2 separate regions of the Homo sapiens genome follow, and region 2 is linked to region 1. The links are contacts of gene promoters, found by promoter capture Hi-C in human tissues and cell types (Jung and others, 2019). All regions are on one chromosome and are shown on one strand. The core of a region is centred on a gene start or on the middle of the fragment in contact, and the rest is flanking DNA. Distances in the headings are between cores, read along the strand shown.

What was found. The method cuts DNA at HindIII sites, captures the fragments that hold promoters and counts their contacts. A contact is called where the count stands out against the background at its distance.
Region 2: a fragment that was not itself captured here is called in contact with the fragment with the promoter of TECRL in region 1 in 1 of the 25 tissues and cell types used here (heart left ventricle).

Annotation. Positions count from the first base shown.
Region 1 is chr4:64,407,460-64,411,874 of GRCh38, forward strand. TECRL (trans-2,3-enoyl-CoA reductase like) reads right to left here and starts at 1,991. Exons shown (of 12, transcript NM_001010874.5): 1 at 1,659-1,991. The coding sequence starts at 1,892. The HindIII fragment of the contact is 12,915 bases long and covers 1-4,415 here.
Region 2 is chr4:64,372,602-64,377,098 of GRCh38, forward strand. It overlaps TECRL (trans-2,3-enoyl-CoA reductase like), which reads right to left. Exons shown (of 12, transcript NM_001010874.5): 2 at 2,571-2,622. Among named protein-coding and RNA genes, the nearest start is that of TECRL, 35 kb to the right of the region's middle. The HindIII fragment of the contact is 4,172 bases long and covers 540-4,497 here.

The DNA of each region.
Region 1 (4,415 bases), core at 741-3,240:
GGCAAATAATTAGGAACTAATTGGCATGTGTGTGTGTGTGTGTGTGTGTGTAATTAAGTAAAAGAACATTTAAACATCATGAGTTTTTCATTACTTTAAGGTGGATTGCCTGTCAGGGTCTATACACCTGTCAGAAAGGACACAATAACCAGTGTCATTTTAGAATTGTAGTCTTTGGAAATCCTTGACTTATTTGATTTTCATTCCATTTGTTGCACTGTGTCCTTGAATTTAACTGTGTTTTTTCTTGTAAGATTTGTGTTTTTCATAGTGGAATATTATAAACATTAGCAACTTCTGAAGAGTAATTTTATTTTTTTATTTTTCTTATGATATTTAAATATAAAATATTTGTGTAATATATTTAAATATTAAATATTTTGTATGATATTTAAAAATCTCAAAACTTCACCTTGATACTAAAATAAAAGTAAATTATAGAAGTCCTGAAATAAATATATCAAAATTCTATTTTGTATGATATATACTCATCGCTTATATATGGCCTCAGTAGAACTATAGAAAAAGCATATGATTTAAAACTGTACAGAAATGGTTTTAGATCTTTTAGTTCAATTCATGACCTGTGTGCACTAATAAAAGGTCTTAATCTTTCTTTTCCATCTATGAATTAAAGTTAATATAACTCAATTTATAAACTGCTCATAGTGTTATAATTACTGAATAAGAAATTATATATTATGTGCTTGGCAATTATTAAAGAAAGGACTAAACAGCTTCTTTTTTCCTTTTTTCTAAAGACCTAGCTAGAACATGGAAAAACGGAATGATTGATTGCATTTTATTTTTAGAACACAGCAACAAAAACGTATTCAATATTTTTGTAAAACAAGATCAAGCTCTATTTTATTACCTGTACAAATATGCCTTTCTCATATTAAGTTAATAGTACTTTTCAAATTTATTAAAAACTGAAAATGCTTGGAATATTATTTATGCATATATTTATCTAAAATATAAACATATATTTATAATTTAGTTTTCTAACCTAAGAAGAGTATATTTTCTCATTCCTTAGTGCAACACCTGTGAATATGGATTTGGACGAGTAACATTTCAAAACATTATTTTCATGAACTTAAATAGTGTTTTTGAAGCAAGTAAACTTTCATAAAAAGTGAGGTAGTCACTTTTTAAGAAAAATAATAAAATCAATTCAAAATAATGCTTAAATGATTAAATTTTTTCAGACATATTACATGTTACTTCTAACAACTACTGTGGCTTTTGCTTACTATTTTCTATAGAAACTAATCAAACTCTATGATAATTTGTATATACAATGAAGTACACGAAGACAAAAACCTGGAGACATTTTACATGTAGGAAAATAGGTTGAGCATTTGTAATTTTACCTGTGGACAATGGTCAATGACAGCATAAAATTCACAGACCAATGACAGAACCTCATTATTATCTACCATTTAATTAATTTAAATTGAGTATGAGAGATGCATTGAACATCTTCTATTAAAACAATGCATAAAGTATGCATCCTGTTCACCACAAAATTAAGGTAAAAGTCAGAAATGTATTTCAGAACAGTCGTGTTAGAATTTAATCAAGCAATCAATAATATTTGGGGCAGAGAAGAAACACTTAAACAAACAAACAAATAAATAAATAAATAAACTCACCTTATCCAGAATACATATCTGTTTCCTTGTTTGAGCATCAAATATTTCAATCTCAAAGTGAGTCGTTTTTGAATGTTTGACTGCTGGAGTTGGTCTTAGAGGGCCCGCTGAGAGTACAAGTTTTGACAAAAAGTGAAAATTTCTCATATCATCCTTCAGTATGAACCGTGTAGCTCTTTGGGAAAGTAATGCTCTCTTGCGTTCCGAAGCGAGGGACTTGTGCCTTTTGAACATTGTGTGAACTAAGAGGAGGGTCTGTCATGTCAAAAGTAGAAAATTGCAAGTGTGTTCCTTTTGCATCAGTTAAATACTGCTGGAGAACCTTTGAAAGGTCAAATGGTATGCCATTCCAAGAGTTCAGTTTTATTTAGCAGGCTTGAAAACAGTGACTGATCTTATTTCTATATATAACACGCTATTGTGATTTGCTGTGTAGAGTATTACTTTACCAGCAATTGAATGATTTCTTGCTTTCTCCTTTTATCTCTGCTTTGTAATATGACTACTCTTATCTGAAATTCCAAAGCAAGAATAGACAGAACATTTTCATCATCTCTGAGTTCTGGATGCACTGATCTTCAAACACACACACACATTTGCATTGAGATGTATTTAACATTAGCAAAGTGCTATCTTAAAGTTAAATTTTTAAAAGTCCTAGTACATTACTATGTAACATTTAAAAAATCCTGTCTAAGGTAAAGAGAAGTGGCATATATATGTTTATATATGTTTTATATATAAATATATGTGCATGTGCATGTAAAGCATTCTAAAGTGAAAAATTTATTTTTGTCAGTACTAATTACAAATCCCAACGAACTTAAAATAACTGTTACACAATATAAAATGATGAATTCTTCACTTCATATAAACATTGAAAAGATAGCAAACTATGAGATTAGAATTTGATAGAGAACAATTTTGTAACCTGGGGAAAAAGAAGTAAACATTATTTTAACATTGTATATCTTTGGAAATCTGTTGAACTGATATACAAAATCTGTAGTCAGCATCACATTTTCCACAACACTATGTTATAGAAAATACAGATAGCCTCAGAATGAAAAATGAAATCTGAAAAACATCCTGGCAAAAGAGCTTTTAGAAAAACTCCTAGTCCTCTGAGATATGTAAATCTGATGAAGAAACAACTGAAAAAAAAATCCAAAACATATTATCACTGATTCAAAATGATATTAAAGGAAAATATTCTGGAATGTGATTTTCAATGAAAACATACAAATAAAATGACACAAAATATATAGGGGAGGAAACCTGTTATCTACCTGAGGCTAATCTTTACTTTTATAAACAACTAAAATAATGTATTCATTTTTAATTTTATTATACATTATGCCCTAGAGATTCACTTTACACTCTTCAGTTATTATGTTGACACTTAATATTTTATATTACATTACATTCAATATTTTATATTTTCAAAAATATAAATGATAGGGATATGTGTCTTTTTACACGTATGTGTGGGCACACATTATGCAACTTTATCATCTGGTTGTTCAGCACTTCAAACTTGGAATCATCTTTAACTTCTCCATTTCTCCCACACCTCACATCTAATCCATCAGAGATCCACTACACAATCTGTTCACAGTTACAATCCAAGCATGAATCTCACCTGTATTGCATATCCAAACTGCTCTTCCTACCCCAACACTAGTCAATCAATAGTCTATTTTTAAAACAGTAGGTGGAGTGACCTGGTTCTATATTAAGTGGGTAACTTAATCTGCTCAACACACTGCAGGGGCTTTCTATTTTATGTTAAAAAAAAAAAAAAAGCCAAAGATATTTGCAAAGGTTTGCAAAGTTCTGCATCACCCAGCACCCTATGACATCTCTCTGACCATATCCCCTAACCTATTTACAGCATTTAGAACAGTTTCTAATATGGACTGGTGATCCATAAACAGTATTAAATAAATTAATTAATGACCAAAAAGTATAATTTGAATGTGTAACAGAATGATATTGTGCTAAGTTATTGCATTATATTGAAATGACCTAAACACTATTCATATAATGTTTCTCCAGATTTTTTTTTTTTTTATTTAAAAAAAGGAATAGTTGGCTGGGTGCAGTGGGTCACGCCTGTAATCCCAGCCCTTTGGGAGGCCGAGGTGGGCACATCACAAGTCAGGAGTTCGAGACCAACCTGGCCAACATAGTGAAACCCCGTCTCTACTAAAAATACAAAAATTCGCTGGGTGTGGTGGCGAGCGCCTGCAGTCCCAGCTACTCGGAAGGCTGAGGCAGAAGAATCACTTGAACTCAGGAGGTGGAGGTTGCTGAGAGCCAAGATCGCACCACTCCATTCCAGCCTGGGTGACAGAGCAAGACTCCGTCTCAAAAAAAAAAGAAAAAGAAAAAGAAATAGTCAAAAGAATTCAGAAGCCAATTGGAAAGAGCTCTCATAGCCAAAGTTTGAATAATTCAAGCAACAAAATAAGTACTAATAATAATGGGTTCAAATTCACAAAACAGTATACCTAGGAGTTCATACCATTATAAATAAATGATTGAATACATAATAAATAAATAAATAAATAAATAAGAACCAGGAGCAAGTCTTCCTTACACAAGACTTCCACATAATTTATGGATATATTGTCTCCTTGAGTGTGGGTTTCAATTACTGACACATTTACAAAAAATAATGAATGAAAAGGGAAAAACAGCCACTTTATAGAAGAGAAATCCGGAAAGCAGATAGCATCTTAACCACTTGACCAA
Region 2 (4,497 bases), core at 1,376-3,875, 34 kb before region 1:
AATAAAACAAAGAAAAATGTAAAGCTGATAAGTCTGAGAAAACGTAGGAAGACAAAATATCAGGATTAATCAAAACGAGAACAAAAGATAGAGATAAAAGACATATAACAAGAATTCTGCCTTCAGGAAATAATGTCTTCTGATAACATATTTTTTTTTTCTTCCCAAGATTAAATTCCCATTCCAGGGCCTGAAAACAAACAATGTCAGAAATGTCATAAAAATTAATTTGGTGTCAAAAAGTAAAGTTTTTTAAAACCTGACAAATGTGGCTTTGTAAGTATATGATTAATCTCTTTGGTATATATTTATGTACTTTAATAAGTATCCAATGTTATCTAGTTTTAAAATATGCTAAAAATATAAGATCCTAAGGCAATTAAGAGAGAAGTTCTTTTTACTAATGTCCATATGTTTACAGATTTTTCAGGATTAGCAATGTTTTTCAATGTCTTTCAAAAATTGGCAAATACATTCTTTTAAATACTTTATATAATGTAATGCAGCAAAAAGTGTTTTTGTGTGTCTTCAATTTGTAAAACCTAAAGATCAATAAAATTTTGAAATACACTATGATATATGGGAAAATGCTGAAATATTATTTTTATATTTTAGATGATTGAAATAATATTAAAATAAAGATAATTTTGAAAAAGTGAAAAAAGTCACTATTTAAGTAAAGCTGTTAAAGATTAGTACTTACAAAGGAAAATAAAATAATAGCTATCAATAATTCTTGCCCTGATATAACTATTGAAACTAACTATACTATTGTCATATTGTCAGCTATCTACTTTTGCAACAGGACATTTCTAGGATTTTTTGTAAGCTGCTTACTTAACTTCAGTTTCCTAAGTATTAGAAGCAGGCTCTAAATCACATAAATAGAAAACGCGTTCCTTTAAAAGTTTAAGATTTCAAGTAATTGTTATGTCTATTAGTTGACATAAATTATTATAAAAATAATACTTTTTTGTCAGGGTGACTGCACATTCTTTTACACATAAACTCGACTTTGATTCATGTACCCATTTTCCAACAATAGAAATAAGACTTTGTTATTATTGTTTTACATACAATCTTCTTGTTACACCTTTCTACTTTATATTAAAAAGTCATTTTCAAATGTCTTCCTACTTACTACTGTAATCTAAACTGTCTGGAGACACTTTATTAGATAGAATTGGTCTAAGTCAGTGTAATGCCACAAAGGTGGCAATTCAATTACTAGCTTAATGAGATCCATGTTTTATGCTAAGATAGAAATAACTATTAAAATAAATTTATTTTAAGTAGAAATACACCAAAAATACTTATATATACTATATACACTATATATATACTATACATACACACTATATGTATACAGTATATAGTAGATATATATATATCTACTATACTATAGTATAGTATATAGTAGATACATATATATATATGTATATAGTAGATACATATATATATATATATATATATATATATATTTATCTTTTTGGTTTTGTTCTTTGTCCCTTATTATAGTGCTCTTCTGGCACTGTTCAACATAACCAATTCCTATATGACTTTATAGCAAAATAAAAAATATCACCTTCCTCAAGAATTTTAAACTGAGTAAGCATATTTCAAGCAATTGTATTCCTTCCTGCATAGGCTTTCCATTTCATTACGAATTTTAAATAGATTGTACTCAAATGTTTATAAATTTTAGGTACATTCACCATTTGCAATTTATTTCTATATTCTTTTTTTTCTTTATGGGAAGGTTTTTATTCATAGATTCTTTTTTAATGTTTTCTTTTTTTTTCCAGAAATTCTTTTTATTATTATTATACTTTAAGTTTTAGGGTACATGTGCACAATGTGCAGGTTTGTTACATATGTATACATGTGCCATGTTGGTGTGCTGCACCCATTAACCCGTCATTTAGAATTAGGTATATCTCCTAATGCTATCCCTCCCCGCTCCCCCCACCCCACCACAGGCCCCGGTGTGTGATGTTCCCCTTCCTGTGTCCATGTGTTCTCATTGTTCAATTCCCACCTATGAGTGAGAACATGCGGTGTTTGGTTTTTTGTCCTTGCAATAGTTTGCTGAGAATGATGGTTTCCAGCTTCATCCATGTCCCTACAAAGGACATGAACTCATCCTTTTTTATGGCTGCATAGTATTCCATGGTGTGTATGTGCCACATTTTCTTAATCCAGTCTATCTTTGTTGGACATTTGGTTTGGTTGAAATTCTTTGCTATTGTGAATAGTGCCACAATAAACATACATGTGCATGTGTCTTTATAACATATAGAAAGTTTCCTGTTATAATAAAATTAAGTTTAAATATAAATTAAAAACAACTTTGTGAAGAAAAATTGGAAATGCTGGAGATTAAAGGATCAATTAGAGTTAAATGCTAGAATATTTATGCCAAAGAAATATTAAGCAAACTATTGTTCCTGAGCTCCTTGTAGAACTATGGTTTTCATACACTCTAACATATATTGCACTTATAGAAAAATTTAAACCTATTTGAAAATAAAACATTATGATGTAAATTCTAAATAATATATAAAACTTACATGCTTTGTGAAACTTTTGCTTAACATCATGAATAGTAGATGATTGTGTCACCTGAAAAGGAAAAGAAAATAGAGTTATTTTTAAAAACTGTTAATTTGTTTTCTATCCATTTAAGAAAAAAAAGTTTAAATATATCATAAAATTCTTACACAATAAGAATTTTTGCTTCATTTATCTTTTTAGTGATTACTATTTTGACAAGCTTGAAATGTTGCAATCAGTAACAATATAATTTTTTAAAAAAATTTGTTTGTATACAACAGTAATAGCTTTATTACATTAATTCAATCCAATTTGTATCCCTAAGATATATTTTTGAATTTTCTTTGTCCAAAATAGTCAATGTATTTTTCCACATCTCATAAAACTATCAATTAAAAATATGTCTTAATGCACAGGAATGTAAAAGAATGTATAGCAATAGTACCCGAGGATGTGAAGTTAATTTATATGGACAAATGAGAGAAATGTTTACCTCAGAATTTTATGAGACAAAAGTCACCTTAAGTCCCCTACTGACATTATTTAAATCCCCAAATAAAAGTACTAAAGGTCCATTAAAATGCATGTGAGATATATTTTTTGGATTCCTTAAGTACATAGTAATTTGATAAAATATTTGGTACTAAATTACTAAAACAAACTCTATAAATTAAAAAATGAATAAAATATTTTTTATTCATCTAAATTTAAAAATTATTGAGGACTAAAGTTCCATGCAAATACTTCAAGCCATCGCAATACTTTTTTTTCTGAATTTGTCTCAAAAGACATTTTATGATAATTCAAGAAAATATATTTCCTTTCCCTGAATAAGCATACGATACTAGTGAAATTTATTATAATCATATGTCTACATGATTTATTTATGCTACACTAAAATCCCCTTATAACTGTTTTGAAAGGGTTAAATAAAAAATGCATAAAATGTTGGTGCATAATAGTCCATAAGAATTGTTACATTACATTTGATGTTTTATTATACACTGAAAGTATAACAACAAATACATTTATTTTAACATATTTCGCCTTCTACTTAACAGGATTGTGACTAAGCATTCAGTATACTGTTCAGAACTTTTTTTATGATTTCCTGTGTGTATATGATTTACTAAATAAGACAGTTATAAGATTTAAGCCCTAAAAAGTAACAGGTATTTCAATTTGTGTTATGCTATTAATAGCAAAATGATCCTAAAACATTCTGTGTATATAAAGTTATAAATATTTCATGGCAATGCTCTTCTCTGAAAGATGTTAGAAAAAAATTTAAAAACAGTTTATATAGAGAGTAATATATATTTATATACTTGTGCATATATTTTAATTTTGGTTATTAACCTTTAATATTTAAATTTAATTTTTAAAATATTGTTTTAACAGTGTCCGTTGTTTTATCTCAATGTTTCTTATTCATTCAGCACCTTTATATGTTGCTTTCTCTGACAGAGTGGAGTAAAGGCCACGTGATATTCCCCAGAGTAACAAATATTTGTCCATTAGTTGTATCAAGGGCCATGTAATTTTAAATAAAAAATAATTTTCATAATCAATAATCCCTCGATTTGAGTTTGATATGTGTTCCTCTCACACTTTATGAGGGCACATTATCTTGTATTATGCATTGGTTGTTTAATCTATATGGAGCTGAGGATAATGACCTAGTGTTACTTTTGTTTTGTTTTATCATGTAGTACACCACAGAGCATATAATAAGCTTTAATTAACTTTTGTAGAAGTCAAAAATAAAGCTGTGAGTGCAAACACGTAAAACCAGAGTAAGATCAAAGTTTCTTAATCTGATATGCAAAAGCTGTATGCCATTCTCCACGCCAGAATAATGCAATAGACAAACTTCTAATTTGATATATGCTTTTTTCTTTCAATTTGCTTATTTTCAAGACTAACATTGTTTTCCTGAACGAA